2 separate regions of the Homo sapiens genome follow, and region 1 is linked to region 2. Evidence: promoter capture Hi-C in 16 types of primary human blood cells and fetal thymus (Javierre and others, 2016). All regions are on one chromosome and are shown on one strand. The core of a region is centred on a gene start or on the middle of the fragment in contact, and the rest is flanking DNA. Distances in the headings are between cores, read along the strand shown.

What was found. Contacts are between HindIII fragments. The CHiCAGO score rates a contact against its expected background, and 5 or more counts as called.
Region 1: a fragment that was not itself captured here is called in contact with the fragment with the promoter of PLPP5 in region 2 in 2 of 17 cell types (activated CD4 T cells and naive CD8 T cells); the score reaches 5.4 in activated CD4 T cells.

The regions. Positions count from the first base shown.
Region 1 is chr8:38,440,415-38,444,209 of GRCh38, forward strand. All of the region lies in intron 2 of FGFR1 (fibroblast growth factor receptor 1), which reads right to left. Among named protein-coding and RNA genes, the nearest start is that of FGFR1, 26 kb to the right of the region's middle. RefSeq lists enhancers at 16-805, 806-1,596, 1,597-2,387, 2,388-3,178, 3,179-3,795. The HindIII fragment of the contact is 850 bases long and covers 826-1,675 here.
Region 2 is chr8:38,267,586-38,271,354 of GRCh38, forward strand. PLPP5 (phospholipid phosphatase 5) reads right to left here and starts at 1,639. Exons shown (of 7, transcript NM_001102559.2): 1 at 1,541-1,639; 2 at 1,297-1,405; 3 at 786-876; 4 at 312-375. The coding sequence starts at 1,614. NSD3 (nuclear receptor binding SET domain protein 3) reads right to left here. Exons shown (of 24, transcript NM_023034.2): 24 at 2,119-3,769. It also overlaps a transcript of DDHD2 not described here. RefSeq lists a silencer at 1,358-1,837. The HindIII fragment of the contact is 3,801 bases long and covers 1-2,327 here.

The DNA.
Region 1 (3,795 bases), core at 1-2,500, 170 kb after region 2:
TCTCAACTCTCGGAGTCCCCAAATAGAAGGAGAGCTGCAAAAATGGGGGGCACAGGTATGTGTGGAAAGAGAGCCGGGAGCACCAAATCAATTAGCAGGGCCTGACACCCAGGGCCAATGGCGTCCACCAGCCCCCCGACCCAGGGGATTTGGAGAAGGGCTTTTTTTTTTTTTTTAAATTGAAGAAAGTGAAAAGAGTAAGAGGGGACATTTTGCATGCAAATGGGCCACTGCCAGAAGAGCCCATTAAAATGTAAAAACTCCACATTCAGCCTGACAAAACGGTGCAAACTGCTGTGTTTGCCAGAGGGCCGGCAATAAAGCTCACAACAAAGGGGCCGGGGGACAATGGCAGACTGAATGGCCTCTGCCAGCAGGTCCCCCCGTGCGTTGCCATGGGGACCCCACCGGGGCTTACTAAAGGTATTTCCTGAGGAGAAAGGCCGAGCACACAGGCCCAGGCAGCCCGGCTAATCCTGACAGGAAGCCATGGCCATTCAGCAGCCCAGGGGCTTGGGGCCCAGAGTTTTGTTTTGTTTTTATTAAAAAAAGATTTCGGCCTTTTGTGCGTCCCACCTCGTCACTGTAATTTAGTGCCGAGCCGCCTGCACTAGCCAAAGCCACAGCCAGGACCCTGCACCCGCCCCGAGACCCCCCAAAAACAGATCCCCCCGAGCTGGGCAGCAAGACACGTGTAGAATCCCACTTGGGAATCGCAGGCGCCAAGAGCTATTGGCCTGGAGAGTTGTGTGTGGATCTTAAAAGACAGAGGGACTCTGGGTGTCGTAAAGGATAACGCAGCCTGAGAACTGAGTTTGGGGCTCAAGCTTCTATGCACGGATTCATCTGATGCCTCCTTCAAATCTGTACTTTTTTCCCCTAGGGATTTTGCCACCTTTCTCCAATCAGCACCAGTGTCCCCCACCTCCTCCCTACCTCTCACAATGGGGAGTTCACTACCTCACTGGGAGAAGGGCTGTAATTAAGTGATTAACAAAGGAATGCACCCAAGAGTTGTCTGAAAAGAAATTTCCCTCCTTCCTCTCTCCCCAGCAAAAGTTCTCACCCTATTGTTTACTGATACATTAAGGACAGAGCTGTACAGAAAACTCTTACTACACTCTTTCGCTCAACCTATTCCCAATACACTTTGCTTCTCTCCCTCCTATCTAAACAGGAAGAAAGCATTGCTCTGGAAAGAGGGAAGTTCATTCACTCATCCAAGAAGAGCAAAGGTAGATGCCCTGCGGCTATGGAGGAGGGCCGTCCAAGCTCACAGTTCCTAGAAGTTTGTGTCACCATTTCACATTTAGCACCAGAATCCAGCCTTGGCAGATTCAGGGAAGGAAGCCAAGGACACAGCTGGTGGTGAAGACAGAAACTCCTGTGTGACAACTGCCCCCTAGGACACAGTTTAGGGTCAATTAACATTTCCTGAACAACTTGCAAATGGAAAGAGCCATCCCCAATGAAGACTGAAAAATGAGAGGCTCAACTCATCTATTATGACTTGAACCCAAGTCTATCTGTGTTTGCAAAGGCTGTGCTGTTGCACCTAGACCTCCACCCAGAAACATGTTTTGGGGCTGACATTTTAATAGAAACATAGAGAGGAAAACATACTATTTCGGAGACATTAAGACTGTGACTAGCAACTGCCCCGGATACCCTGGGAAGCTTCTAAGGCCATATTGGGTGGGTCCTATTTTGGGAAAAGAAGTTGGGGCATCTGCACGATAATAGAAAGCTCCCAGGATCTGGTAAGGACCACTTAGGTGGACTGTAAGTTGGGGGGATCTAAACACTCAGGTTGGACCGGGGCAGGGGGAGTGTCTTCTCCTGCCTTTATTATAATATAAATCACATCCTAAACTCAAAGCAAAGTCCAACTCGTCATCACCTGTGACAGTGCATAAGAAAGAACATCTTCCACCAAGTTGTTAAAGTGGTGTGTGTGTGTGTGTGTGTGTGTGTGTGTGTGCAGGGGTCCCACTGCTGGAGGGGAGCTCAGACTCTCCCACCACTGGCCCGGAGCCCAGGCCTCCCAGCCATGTGTCTGCAGCTGCGACCTGTCATGCACTTCCTGGTCTGGGTTCTGTAATGGAAAGATCATTAAGAGTGGGGGAGGGTGGAGAGATGAATCAACGGCAAAGAGGTAACCCTGCAGCTCCCACTCTCCACTGAGCTCTGACCTTAAAGTTCGGTCAGGTTCCTTAAGGAAAAGAATGTATCGCCCTCCCCCCACCTCTCCCAGCTGGGGCCTCTCGAACAACCTCCCCTCCCCCAAACTCAGCAGAAATTGTATGGGGAAGGAAACGCCAGCAGCTGGGCAGGGAAAAGTTGCCGCTCCCTAAACTTGCTGATGAATTAGTAGAGGCTTCAGCTGTTTCAGGATGTGTCTTCTGGTCCCCCAAGCCCGACATGGGTGCTTGAGCTCACAGTTCACCTGGACTCTCAGCACCCCAAGTGCCTGCCATATCCCCGCAATCCCGTCTCATTCCTGCAATGGTGGGGCTGGGTCACCAGCCTCTCCAGAGTAGAGAAAGGAATGGGCTTCATAAAGTTACTTTTTCTCCACCGTAAAGAAATTCTCTTAAGGTTTCACACGATGAGACTAAAGACAATAAAACATCCTTTGAAAATGAAAAGCTGTAGAATAGTGGTTACCAAGGGGCTGGAAGAGGGGAGAAGGGGGAGTTAGCGTTGAACAGGTAAGGTGTCAGGGAAGGTGAAATGGATGGTGGTGATGGCTACACAGCGTGAATAAATTTTATGCTACAAAACTGTGCACTTAAAATTGGTGAAAATGCACCACAAAGAAATGATAAATATTTAAAGTGATGGATACAATACAGCAATTACCATGATTTGGTCGTTACATAATGTGTGCGTGGATCAAAACATCATACCGTACCCGACGATTATACATAACCATTATGCATCAATTACAAATTTAAAAATTGGCCGGGCACAGTGGCTCACATCTCTTAACTCCAATACTTCGGGAGGCTGAGGTGAGAGGATTGTTTGAGTCCAGGGGTTAGAGATCAGCCTGAGCAACAAAGTGAGACCTCATCTCTACAAAAAAAAAAAAAAAAGAAAAACAAAATTAGCCAGGCATGGTAGCGTGCACCTGTGGTCCCAGCTACTTGGGAGGCTGAGGTGGGAGGATCTCTTGAGCCCGGGAGGTCGAGGCTGCAGTGAGCTGAGATAGCAACACTGCACTCCAGCCTGGGTGACAAAGTGTGACCCTGTCTCAAAAACATTACATAATCAATTTAACTTAAAAAAATAAAAATAGTTAAAATGGTTAATTTTATGTTACATATATTTTACCACAACAAAAGAATTAGATGGCGCTGGGCTCGGTGGCTCACGCCTGTAAACCCAGCACTTTGGGAAGCTGAGGTGGGCGGATCACATGAGGTCAGGAGTTCGAGACCAGCCTGACCAACATGGAGAAACCCCGTGTCTACTAAAAATACAAAATGAGCCAGGTGTGGTGGCGAATGCCTGTAATCCCACCTACTCAGGAGGCTGAGGCAGGAGAACTGCGTGAACTCAGGAGGTGGAGGTTGCAGTGAGCTGAGATCGCACCATTGCACCCCAGCCTGGGCAACAAGAATGAAACTGTCTCAAAAAAAAAAAAAAAAAAAAAAAAAAGAATCAGGTGGTAATGGTAGCAGGCAGCATTAGTTTATTAAAAACGTTCTTACTTGGCAAAAAAGTTGATGATCCTTTGTTGGTTCCAAAAATCTGGAGGGAAATTTTACTGGCCTATGAAATCTAAAAATC
Region 2 (3,769 bases), core at 389-2,888:
CCATTCCAGCACATGATTACTTTTTAGGGCAAACAGCAAATGACACTGCAGCTTCAGGAGGTGCTCAAGAGGACACTGACCGACTGCTGTGGCCGTTGGTGGGAAATGCTGTTCAGGCAGAAAAGAGCCCAGGTGTCACCTGGAGGACTGAGGTATGGGGAAGGGAGTAAGCGTTGAATGACAAAAGAAAAATCAGAGTGAAGATAAAGGAGAAAAGAATGAGAAAGACGTGTGGTGGACACCATTAACCTCTCTGTTCTGGTGGGTAAGGGCTGAGGCAGATGCTGGGGTGGTTAGCTGTTGTCACTTACCTCCCTACGATCAGTTTTATTGTGTTGGTAAAGACGCCATTCAGAGCCAGGGCAAGGCTGGCAGCTGCAAAGCAAAGCCATTAGTTGAAAGGATCTGTCTAGGAGGAAAGGTATGGTCATGGCCTCGTTATGAGAGCAGCCGTGCTGTTTCTGAGATGGATAGAATCCAACCAGGCCTGGGCACAAAAATAATTAGGGTCCTCAGTGATCACTCTTTTGTAGCCGAGAACTTTTGTACTAGGCCAAAGACATTTCTGAGGTACAAATAACCCAGTGCATTTAGGCACAGGGCTGCCTGCCGTGTAGCCTGCGTAACCAAGTCCCTGCAGTGCTATTTTCCTCTCCCGCGGGGATAGAGTTCCTTTAGGAATGCAGAACTCAGTGGCCTCCACACAGGCTCACCGTGGCTGAATCCCACAACGACCTCCTAGGTTCCCAGCACGAAGAAACCGGCCCGAAAGGGCTAGCGCTCACCCAGGCAGGCTTGTCTGCTGTCTCTTGTGTCTGCCTTCTTGAGAAATTTGGCCAGGAAGATCAGAGACAGTGGAGAGAGAAATGCAATAACCTGAATCAGAATGTCAGAGGTTAAAAACAATCCAAAAAAAAGCCACACTCGTGCTCCTACAGGAAAGAGGGATGTGACACAGCAGGACTCACTGGAGCTAACATAAGGTCTCTGAGTGCGCGTAACCGGGCGCCAGGCAGCGCCACCAGTGAACAGCAGCGCCCGTGCGGCTCGGGCCCCGGTACCTCAGGCTGAGGCACAGAGCGCCCGGGAAAACGTTGTCTCAGCCCAAAGAGGCTCGGACACCCTCCTCTCTCAATCAGGATCTTAAACACTCGAGCCCTAGGAGGCGGAACCCAGCGCACAGCAGCGGAGTGGGCAGTGGGTCCCTACAAAGGCCGTCTCGGGGTGGAAAACGCACAGGTGCCCGCGGGAAGCCGGGTCATGGGGAGGGAGGAAAGACGATCTTTCTCCACGCACAAACATCGGCTTGGTGGGGAAATACTCCGCCTCCACGTAGGGGTTCCGGTAGAGCCACATCTCCTCCGGCTGGATGAGTCTCTGGAACGGGGGGAGCAGCTCCGTCACCCTAGAGGGGAACAAAGAAGCGCAGAGCAGGTCGCCTGGCTTCCTCCCCGCTTCCCCACTGCCCGACCCGCCGCCCCGTGCCGCCCGCCTGCCTGGGAAGCGGGGCCGCCCGGGCCCGGCCGTGGATCTTTCTTACAGGAAGGCCGCGAACAGCGCGAGCCGCACGCCCACTTCGGCCCCAAAGGCCACCGCCGCCGCCGCCTTCCCCATCCGGCCGCGAGCTCCGAGCGACGCTGCGCTGACGTGGCCACCTCCGCGGGGAGGGCCGGGCCGGGAACTGGGCACCGCCCCCTCTCCCAGTTGCCCGCGCTCCGGCGGCTCCCCAGGAAGACGGCCTGGCGGCTGTGCCGAGGGCATCGTCTGGCAAAGGGTACGCAAAGCCAGCGGAGCTGCCCTCTGGTGCGTTCAGCAGGGAGCCAGCGCCCCAGTTCCAGCCGAGTAGGTCGGCGTACGGTCCATCATCAGCAGCTCGTCTCCACGGCCCAACCACACCACCGCGGGGAGCAGCCTTCTCCCGGGACCTCGCCTCTAAATGGAAAACCAAACAGCCCGCTCTCAGATCCTCGTTCCTTAGCAACACAGCCGCATTCTGCAGGAAGCTACACTACCTGAGGTTGGCTGGATTGTGTCATTTAGTCCTCCCACCCAGGATGGCCTCCTGCCCAGAGTGTTGTAGCAAAAAATTATTGGCAAAGAACAAGCCCACATATTTAATTTGGAACATACAGGACAATTTATTGAAGTCAATCTCAAGCAAAATCTGAAATCAGTGGAATGTCATTAAAAACCTTTCCAAATTAATCCTCACGGAAGCAAAAAACACATTGGAATTCCAAAGTATTTGTAAAATAAAAAAGGCAACATCTCAGTAAATATAATGTACAAAAATTATATGTTCCTACCAGCACACACATCAGTAAAGAAGCTTAAATATTACAGGCAACCCTAAATACACTATAACTAGTCAACAATAAGCTATCTATATACAGGTTAACCAAGCTTTACACGTTTCACACTATGCAATAAAACATAGGCCAATCAACAAAATCCTCAAAATATTATATATCTTGAAGTCTATGTGGCAACATCAAGTCATTATACAGTAATGCCCTAGTGGAACACCCCCAGGGAAAATTAACACTAATCCCTTAGTGTCAAGAGCTTCTAGCCAAGTCACAGAAACTCAAAAGAGATTGACTTTAGTGAATATTGATGCTTTGTTATTAAAGACTCAAGTCTCAAGTGATTTAGGCAAAGTAATGGTTCACAGGATCTACAAAGTTTATTACAGATAAAGTACAGAAATAACCAATCTACAAAGATCATTATCATAAAGAACACGAGAAAATGAAAACGGAGTCTGTAGGTATCTGTGTTTGTTGTGCAATATCACTCAAATGGGTACAAATGAGTTTCTCATATCAATTCCAAATATACACATACCCTTGTATATAAAAAATGATATTAGCCAGTTGTAATACTCATTTAGCATCTTGATTATTAGTGGCAATATAATTATCTTAACATAGGGCATGTAACAGGACAAATGAGATAAAATAATGACAACCAAGTAAGTTTTATCCAGTCCATTTCTAAACTGACAAGAATACCTTATTCAATACCTTATATAGGTCATCTGACAGATACTTGAGGGCTGTTTGCACACATCAAGTGTGTTGGCAGGCAGGGAGGGGAGCAGTAAAAGCTGAGGGTGCTTTCTCACTAACTAGCAGATGCAGTAATGCCACATAAGAAAACTAAGGACTGAATAAATGACTTTGGCATCTATTCTATTTTCCCTTTTTACTTACATGTAAATTACTTTTACAGCCTACTGAAGGACAGGCAATTCTCATCCCCCTCCCGCTTCATACATACGTGCCACAAGCACCCAAACTTGTCACTTATGCAATGGACTGACCAAAACAAAACAAAAAACAGAAATGTTTTTTGAAAGACACGGATTACCCACATTTTGGGAGTGTAACGTAAGTGCAATTTTTTGTTTTGTTTTTTTCCCTACATAGACATAGTAAAAGGAAAGAAGATGTGCTTGGGGAGAGGGTTGACAAAATGACAAAATAAAGAATGTACATAAAAAGTATTTGTAAAAATGCTGGTATCTCATGCAGGAGTCTCTTCCTCAAATGTGTTCAATCAATCTGAGCTATCTACTGTGAACACTCTCCCATTTGCAGAACTTCACCTTTAATCCACGCTAAAGAGGATAAGAGACTAGGCTATTTATTTTCAAAACAGTTTACAAAACAATGCTTTCTACTTCATAAATGTAAAAAGAAACTAAAATAAGGAGAATCTGAAGAGTTTCAAGTACTTAAAAAACCTGAATTCAATGAGGCAGAGG